2 separate regions of the Homo sapiens genome follow, and region 1 is linked to region 2. Evidence: promoter capture Hi-C in human tissues and cell types (Jung and others, 2019). All regions are on one chromosome and are shown on one strand. The core of a region is centred on a gene start or on the middle of the fragment in contact, and the rest is flanking DNA. Distances in the headings are between cores, read along the strand shown. Region 1 has its middle 37 kb from the start of AGR2. Region 2 holds the start of AGR3 (anterior gradient 3, protein disulphide isomerase family member).

The links. Contacts are between HindIII fragments. The study calls those that stand out against the background at their distance.
Region 1: a contact is called between a fragment that was not itself captured here and the fragment with the promoter of AGR3 in region 2, in 1 of the 25 tissues and cell types used here (heart left ventricle).

The regions. Positions count from the first base shown.
Region 1 is chr7:16,839,575-16,844,497 of GRCh38, reverse strand. No RefSeq gene overlaps it. Among named protein-coding and RNA genes, the nearest start is that of AGR2, 37 kb to the right of the region's middle. The HindIII fragment of the contact is 3,304 bases long and covers 1,254-4,557 here.
Region 2 is chr7:16,879,671-16,884,668 of GRCh38, reverse strand. It overlaps AGR3 (anterior gradient 3, protein disulphide isomerase family member), which reads left to right and starts at 2,686. Exons shown (of 8, transcript NM_176813.5): 1 at 2,686-2,725. The HindIII fragment of the contact is 4,580 bases long and covers 1-3,141 here.

The DNA.
Region 1 (4,923 bases), core at 1,656-4,155, 40 kb after region 2:
ATCCATTTCTGTTTCCCTGCTCTTCTCTCCATCAGTTGAGTATCAATCTCTCTCTTGCTTACTTGGGATGTCAGGGACACCGGCTGCTTACTTTGTTCTATCACGCTGAGAATCTCTTTCCTACCTCAGATTATTTGCACTTGCTGCTCCTGCCTGAAACACTTTTTCCCAGGCAGCTCTTCAAACGACTAGTTCCTTTTGTTCTCTCATCTAAACTCAGAACACTGCCTCTTTGGCTTTAGTAAACCCTGGCAGTTGTACACACCAACCATCTAACCAGGTAGTCTTAGAAAGCACTACATCTCTTTGGGATTGTATCGCATGCAATATAATTACTTAAAAAGTCATTCTACCTTTAATTACTACAATTTATACATTACGAACTGAAATAGATGCTTCATTTAATCTAAAAACAGTTACTTGCTGTTTTTCCCTTCGAAACAAAAGGAAATTCTCAGAGGAGTATAGAACCAATCTCTTGAAACCTTTCTTCCTCAGCGGACCAGAAAGTCAGTTGTAAGAGCAACAGCCTGACTAAAAGAAAGAATGTAAACCAAAAGATGTGGAGCTATTGAGTCAGGGATTATGGCTACAATGGCCCCAGTAGATCAACCATTTACTACCTGGTTGGTCACTACAATGCTTTCCTTTTATAAGCACTACCTAAAAGAATCCCAACTCTTATTACAATGTGATCATTCTTTTAATGAATATCAGGACCTTGAACTGGCCCGATCCAGCACATGAAAATCACTAAACACATGAAAATCACTAAGTTAAACCTGTAGGAACATGACTGAACTCTGAAAATTGGATACGGTGGATGAAAACAAGAATCAGCAATGTTTAGCACTTTCACCACTACCAATGATGAAAAAAACTGTAAGTTGATACGAAAGCTTGCAAGGTACTCTGATATTTTGGAAAAAGCTAAATATAAGATAATCAATTTAGGAAAAAATATTACAAGAAAAATGTCAGAATAAAATGAGGTACCAGAGAACTTTGATGCAGGAGCTGCCTTTATGTACGGAAGAATAGACTAATTGGCAACACCAGCAGTTCCCCAAGTAAATTGGGCTGGGTTTGGGCTGTATCCCTGTGAAACCTAATTCTAGCAGTGACTTTGTTAAATATTGATTCCCAAGTGTCTGTATGTGAAGACAATTACCCGAGGGAAATGGGCTTTCATACATATACTTTCGAGGTAACAATGGATGCTAACACTGGCCTTATTTTAGAGCCTGCTAGATCTCTGACACTCTTTCACTATTCAGTTTAACATTGCAGCAATGACTTAGGAGGGTTCTTGAATTATTTGTCCTGTCCTTATCTATGCATGCCATTGTTGCAACAATAGTATATGTCAGATAGGTTAAAAATGTATAATATATGCATTTTACCAAAATAAGACAGCATCTATTGTAAGAAGGATCATTATTTTATATATAACACCAAAAATGACTTAAATTCGATGATGAAACATGACCAATTGTAAAAGGCATTCTCATTTCAGAGTTGGCAAAATGTTGAAAAAAATGTGCATCTGAGGATAGAAGAAATATAATTGTAAAAGACAGAACTGAAAGCTAATCTTGATTTCTAAGCTTAGATTTACTAATTCACAGTTTCCTGGATCCCAGAAACTGTGGATTAAGTTACTAAACTGTTAAGCTACTAAAAAAAAGGGATACAACTGTAACTCTAACACTTTGGGAGGCCACAGGGGTGGATCACTTGAACCAAGGTGTTGGAGACCAGGCAGGGCAACATGGCAGAACCCCGTGTCTACAGAATGTTTCTTTTAAAAAACAGCTGGGCATGGTGCCACATACCTGTAGTCCCAGCTACTTGGGAGGCTGAGGTGGAAGGCTCACTTGAGCCCGGGGCGGGTGGAGGTTGCAATGACCTGAGATCGTGCCACTGCACTCCAGCCTGGGTGACAGAGTGAGACCCTATCTCAAAATAAATAAATAAATAAAGTTTTTAGTATATTTGGAATTTAACATTTTCAATCTATACACCTAAAAAGTAAACTGAACTCTCCCTGCCTGGAATTTTAATATTATTTTCACTTACCTCTATACCTTACAATGTTCAAGTGAGGGTTTTGGAGCCAAAGCTTAATAGATATTTGACATTGACAAGTTATACAAATTCTTCATGACTCAGTTTGTTCATTTGTAGGTAGGGAAAATAATACAGGTAATAGTAGTACTCTTGTCGTATTATTGGAAGATTTAAATATATATATACAGTGTTCACAACGAATGGTGCCTAGCACATAGCATGCTCTGAGAAAAGGCAAGCCATTTTGATCACTGCACGTCTATTCAAAATATGCATCTCAGTAATGCAGAATTAAGTTCCATTGACATGCCCGTGGAAGGAGGAACAGAGAAAAGGAAAAGAAAGTGTTCCAGATCTACAGCTAAGTAACAAACCATCTCTAAACACAGTTCTGTATCTTAAAAGAGCGATTTTTTAATGTTCACTGATTTTTGTGGGTCAGTATTTCACACAGAGCACAGCTCCTGATGTCAGAGGCCTCAGCTGGGAAGACTTGAAGGCAAGGAGAGGACGGTGTGACTCAACGGCTGAGGATTAGAATCATCTCCAGCAGTCTTCACTAACATGTCTGGCAGTTGATGCTGGCTGTCAGCAGGGACCTCAGCTGGTCTGTCAGCCAGAAAACATACCTGTGTATTCTCCATGTGGTCTCCCAATGTGGACTAGTTTCGGTTCTCACAGCATGGCAGCTGGGTTCCAAGAGCAGACATCCCAAGAGAGCCAGGCAGAAGTCTTATTGCTTTTATGACCTTGTGTTGGAAGTCACATAGTGTCACACAGTACCACCAGATTTATAAGGAGGACACAAGAAACCCACATTTCAAATGGAAGGAGTGTCAACGTCACATTGAAAGAGGAGCATGTGAAATGAAGGATATTGTTGCAAGCTATTGAGAAAACACAATCTGATGGAGAGTAAGAGAGACAGTGAGAGACAAACTTTTAAGTCAACCTGAAAGATGACTACCTCTAACGGCACAGCCATATGACAAAACAATTTGAGGATGCACTTAATTTTGAAGAGTCAAATAACCATTGCCTAAACACAACAATTCATTCAGAACTATTGAAAGCATGCTAGGCTTCTATACTTTGAAAGAGAATGGACTATCACATATTTTTCAAAGCCACTTCTCAAATTAGGCAGTGCAAAGGTAACAAACAAAATAAAGGTTTTTTCAGATATATAGATAACCAGGACTTATCATAAACTAGGTAAGGAGAATAATTCAGTCAAGCTAGCATGTGCCTAGAAAATGAACAAAAACAACTCTATTTGTAAGCATTCTGTTCTTTTTCAGGACTAAATTGTAAAATTCTTATGATTTAAAAATAGTGGTCCTTTATTGTGCACTCATGTGCAAAGAGCTTTAGTGGAATGTGCACTTTTTAAATATCTGATCCTTGTAACATTATGAAATTAGTATATTTCCCTCCAATTTATAGATAAGAAAGCTAAAGCTCAGTCTAAATAATTTAACCAATTCTACCTGCATCCCAAATTCATGCACATTCTATTATCAAAGGCTACTTTTGGTTTGTTTATAAAATTTTCTTCCAAAGGATACTTAAGTTAAAAATAACCCAGACACTTCTGGCCAGAGTTTGAAATAGGGCCAGGTTAACTTTGAGTATTTTTGTGAGGATTATGAACCAGGAGAAAAAAAATTAATTAATTTGAAACGGGTGGATAGCAGATATCTTAAGATTTCTTAATGTGACAAAACACAAATTTTCAACAAAAAGAAATAAATATTGAGAGGGAGTTCCAGAAATCAATAAAGACAAAAAAGTAATAGATATACACATCTGAAGTAGTCTGCATCGATTGGCTGGAAGAATAAATATAGATGTTAAACCAATGTTTCTGAAGCTTAATATTGCCATTTTAAAAAAATAGACATTTACAGGAAAATGTTTCAGAACTTTTAACGTAGCAGACTTTTTCATTTTTCTTTATTCTTCTTTGACTTCTCCTTAGGTAGTGACCTGAGCCTCCCTCAGGGACATCTTTAGATTTGCGTCTTTCTTTTCTTTTCTTTTCTTTTCTTTTGAGATGGGGTCTCACTCTATCTCCCAGGCTGGAATGCAGTGGCAGGATCACAGATCACTGCAACCGCCCCCTCCGGGCCTCAAAAGATCCTCCCACCTCCGCCTCCGGCGTAGCTGGGACTACAGGCCCATGCCATCACATCCTGTTAATTTTTGTTTTTTGTTTTGTTGTTGTTGTTTTTGTTTGGTAGAGATGAGGTTTCACCATACTGCCTCAGCTAGTCTCAAACTCTTATGATCAAGCAATCTGCCCATTTCAGCCTCATAAAGTGCTTGGGGTTACAGGCGTGAGCCACCAGGTCCAGCCTACATTTTTCATATTGTCTAGATTAACATGCCCTTTCCACTTTCTCTCAGATGATAGAGTATTTTATTGAGCTAGTAAGATTTTGTTATTTAGAAAGTTTTTTTCAGTATAGTCAAATAAAGGGATTTTTGTTGTAGTTTGATATGTAAGCCAGAAGGAATCCTGAGTATTTTAAACATGTGTCACAGCACGAAACAAATTATAAAACTTTATAAAAGATAATCTGATACTGATGCTTCCATCCAAGTAGTGCATAAAGCTCTCTTATGAAGTTGGCTATTTACCTAACATCTTGCTGAAGTTAGGAAAACACTTTTCCTTCTTAAATTGAGAAGCATGACCAACTCTTAATGTACAGACACGCAAGCAGAAAATCCAAAAGCAAATTAAGAATATTAAGCTACATTCTTTCCACAAATAAGCTAGTTCTGACTATTTAAAAGAAGGGAAAAAAACACTCTTTTCTGAAGCCTTACCCAATAAGAGTTTACATA
Region 2 (4,998 bases), core at 1,437-3,936:
TCTCAAATTACTGGGTAACCCATCGGCTATAGAAAAATTATTTTCTTAATTAAAAATAGGATGTAATATGACCTACAGGAAGAGTCAATTGAAGCTGTTGACAATTCCAAATCCATTAACCGTAAGATTGATTTTGAAGATTATTGCAGGCAATTTTATGAAAAAATAAATATGAGGTCACATTGAAAAAATAAAGACAGTTAATGCCAGAAAAATACCAGCCACCTGGTATCAGATAGGTACAGTTAAGAAAATGATTAACATAATTATATACAAAGAATAATTTGTATAATTTGCCATCATGTACATGAATATACTTTAAATAATTTTACTTCTAAGAATAATCTTTCATAGAACCATTTGTGATCTATTACACAATAAAACAAATTTTGGATGACAAATATATATTTCAAAATATTATTTTAAGATGCTATAATTCCAATGACTTTATTACCTCCTTTTACTTTCAAAATTGTCCTGGGTTAGAGGACACATTGCATTATCACCCTAGTGGGAGAGACCAAAAGACACTGATCAGCTCAGACATTATAGGGTCTAGTTTCACTACCCCACAGGTACTCGACTTCCTCTTTCTCACTCTTATCTTATAATTTATTTAAATGAATATTATGTGAGAAGTTTAACAGGGATGCAGAATATTTGGAGATTTTTCCGTAACCACTCTCAGTCAACAAGAAGTTGAAAGCTTTCCCAGACTTTTCACTAACAGAGAAATATAAGGATTATTGCCCAGCCATTTCTTTGCTTTGCAAAGGCTGGCTGGATTTAAAATTAAAATTATATGTCAAGTTTCATAACCTTCAGCAAGAAGGATTCCATTTGAATAGCATGTTCCAGGGAAGGGTCCCTTTGAGAATCCTATGTAAGGAAGAAAGCACAGTTAGACAAGTACACAAATCAGCAGTACAGTTAAAGAATATACAACCTAGCTACATGAAGTTTCTTTCAGGACAATGGAAAGTTTAATTAGGAAAACAGTAAAATTTTCTATAACAAATGAGAAAATCCATATGCCCATCTTTATAGAACAAAATCCAACAGTCCTGCTTTTAAGAGATGTAGTTTAAGAATAATGGTTACCTTCTTAACATGGTCAACTCAGCCAAATCCAGCACTACATCTAAAGTTAAAATACTGGAAGCACACCCGCTTTAACATCAGGAGCAAGACAATCATCACTCCCATTCTTGCACAGTATATTTGTTAATGTATTCAGAGCAATTAGACCCTTCCCCACAAAAAAAAGAAACAAAAAAAGGGTGGGAGAAGGGAGGGATGGAGGGATGGAGGGATGGAGGAAGAGAGGAAGGGAGGAAGAGAGGAAGGGAGGAAGAGAGGAAGGGAGGAAGAGAGGAAGGGAGGGAGGGAGAGAGGAAGAAAGGAAGCAAAGGAAGAAAGGAAGGAAAGAAGGAAGGAAGGAATTTATAAACAATACCCTGGATTAAGGTTCAACAAACATTTTCTGTAAACATTTACTAAAGATAGTAAATATTTTAGGTTTTGCAGATCATACAGTCCCTGTCACAAGCACAGTTGACCCTTAAACAACATAGATTTGAATTGTGTGGGTTCACTTAGAGAAGGATTTTTTTTTAATATATTCCTTCATATGGGCAAGTTCTGTATCCACAACCAAAAGTGGATCAAAAATACTGTGTTCACGGGATGCCAAACCTGCATATGCGGAGGACCAACTTTTCATATCTGTGGGTTACGCAGGGCCAGATATGGGACTTTGAGTGTGCACAGATTTTGGTATCCACTGTCCTGGACTGTACCGGACTTTGCTGTTGCAGTGCAAAAGTAGCCATAGACACTAGTAAGCAAATGCACATGGCTGCATGCCATCCGCCACATCTCTCTCTACTTAAGGACACTGAAATTGAATTTCATATAACTTTCACATGTCACAAAATATGATTCTTTTGGGTTTTTTTCCCCAACCGTTTAAAAATGTCAAAACCGTTCCTGTTTCCTGGGCTGTACAAAAAACAGGTATGCCAAATTTGATGACACACTGCCTTACGTTATTTTAACAGTAATTAAATAATTACTCTCAATTAATTCAACAGTATCTAACTATTAGATAAATTTAAACTTATCTAATGGCCTGTTTTTCTAATTTTTTGTGCAGTAAAGGTTTTATAGAAAAATTGTAAAGAATAATCAAATTATGAAAATGTTCAACTTTAAAACAGAATTTTTATTTCCTTCTCTCTCAAAAAAAAAAGGACCCAATCTCTTTAGCTGTTAATTATATTCCTGTAAACAGAGTAACCCTTAGGAATTTCTATTTGAACAATGGCATGCACACAGTTCTTAAATTCATTCCGTTTTCTTTCTTCCTTTTCTTTTTTTTTTTTGTGCTGAACTTCAGCCAAACATTAAACTACCTTGGGAAATAAAAGGTAAAAGAGAAAGAAGCACAAAGATGGTATTTGACCTTATTTTATGAGGACATTCAATCTTAATTTAGAGAAAAAGAATAGAGCTTTTTTAGTGTGAGAAGCATGAGAACTGGAAAGAAGTACAGAGTTTTTCAGACCAGCCTATTTTTCTAAGTTTGTTTTCCGGTAACTATGCTCTTGTTTCTATGCAGGTGAGGTTGTAGGTCAGGTGTGTGTGTGTGTGTCTATAAATCCACACCCATTTTTAACCAGAAACATCCAGAATACATTTCCAACAAGAGCACTGGCCAAGTCAGGTAAGCAAGCAAATTTTCCAGATTACTTAATCAGTGGTCAAGCTTTGCTATATTTAAATAATCACCTTTTGCTATTTAAAAGTGAAGCTTTCAGTAAAGGGTAGGAAAGTGAAATGAATTTTTATTTTTCTTCTTTTACTGAACTGGATTTCCTTTGCTGGTTTCATAGTTTTATCTCTATTTATATTAATGGTATTAGAATAAATTGACGTCAACCACAAAAACGACTCTTTGAAAAGTATTCTACAAGTAATGATAGCTCTTCTTTATATTCTTTTAAGTCTTGTTTTATTTTAAAATATAGGAACTTATAATATCAGTTACTTACGTTAAATTACTTTTGAAAAATAAAATACTAATGTCATAAAATGCTAATTGACCAATGTTTATACAATCTAATTGCTGACATATGGTTATGTGCCTCCCAAATGCATTTTAAGCTGCTGTAGGCCTGTAACCATGCCACATTTATCTGTGTTCCCCCAAGTAGCTTAACCTTGCAACTGATACTAAAGGACCCTCAGCAGTTTACACTATATTTTACCAAGGAAAGCGTTATTTATTCAAAATCTACAGTGTACAAGTTGTACTGCTTTGTCACAGAATATATTTAATATCTATTTTATAATTTATCAATGTAAAACCAGAAAACCAAGATTTTTATTTTTTAATTAGAAAGTATTTGACAATAATACATAAAGACTTGAAATTTTAAAGAAAAAATGGTTCCCGCTTAACTCTAAGCTTCGCAGCTTTAAAATAGCAAAAATGATGAGGTTATGCTTTTTCTTTTTTAAAATGCAGATTCCACCTGCTTGTCTCTGTAGCTAACATAGAAAAATCTTTCTAAAGATTCCTTCCAGATTGACTTTTCTTAACTCTTCTTTATATCCAAGATCCCTGGAAGAATTTTAATGACGTTTTGGACCCTATTCCCACGGAAAAGGAACAGAGGCAGATAAAATTTTGCACACAATTTCCAGGGGTTTTGAGCCTTCTGTAGCTCAGCCACAGGCCTTCTAGAAGCCTGCTGGATCCAGGTTAAGATCCTGTCCTAGGTGGTTGCTTTAGTTCCTCCACTGCAACTCCCAACCTGTCTAACTAAGGCTGCCTTCCCTGGGTTGAGCTTTGTGTTCCAGAGTCAACTGTCCCTGTCCTGTACTAAAATCCACCCTGTATTTGTTTCAGTCTTTAAAGTACAAGATGACCAAGGCCTTAAGGTACAAGATGACATTCTGAAATGTTTTATGGTTTAATAAGTTATGAGAACTTAAACTGAAATTCTTATCAGGCACCGTGATAATTGTTTAACAGGGTTTTTATATGCCTGGAAAGAAAGGACAGGAAAGGAGGGGAAAGGAGGGGAGAGGAGGGGAAAGGAGGGGAAAGGAGGGGAGAGGAGGGGAGGGGAGGGGAGGGGAGAGGAGGGGAAAGAGGAGGGGAAAGGAGGGGAAAGGAGGGGAAAGGAGGGGAGAGGAAAGGAGTCCGGGCGATGTAGCTCACCCTTGTAATCCCAGCACTTTGGGAGGCCGAAGCAGTTGGATCATTTGAGGTCAGGAGTTTGAGATCAGCCTGGCCAACATGGTGAAACCCCATCTCTACTAAAAATACAAAAATTAGCCGGGCATGATGGTGGACACCTGTAGTCCCACGTACTTGGGAAGCTGAGGCAGGAGAATCGCTTGAACCTGGGAGGCGGAGGTTGCAGTGAGTGGAGATGGCCCCACTGCACTCCAGCCTGGGTGACAAGAGCAAAAAAAAAAAAAAAAGAAAGAAAGGAGAGAGAAAGAAAAGAAAGAAAGAGAGAGAGAAAGAGGAAGGAAGGAAGGAAGGAAAGAAGGAAGGAAGGAAGGAAGGGGAAAGAAGGAAGGGGAAGGAAGGAAGGGGAAGGGAAGGAGGGAGGGACAACTGGGGATTAGGGAGGGAAATAAAGTAAGGTTAACCTGGAGTGGTAACTATTTTCAGTCCATAGAGGGGCTGCAATAGATACACCACTGGGAAGGGGAAAACAGTATAATGGGAGGAATGAGGAAATGTCTGGAGAAATCTAGAATCTGTAAACTTCTTTACCACCAAATTGTTGTTCTCCTCCACGACTGCGGTTGCTACTTTACAATAACTAGGTGATTAAAATTGCCAAATGTTTTACCAATGCCAAAACATTGTGTCTTATATATCTTTTCATTTTCCACAATGCCTACTACAATAAAATATAGCAACATCTTTGTTTGAACAGAATCACTAAAGAATCAGTCACTAGCCATTTTGGCTAA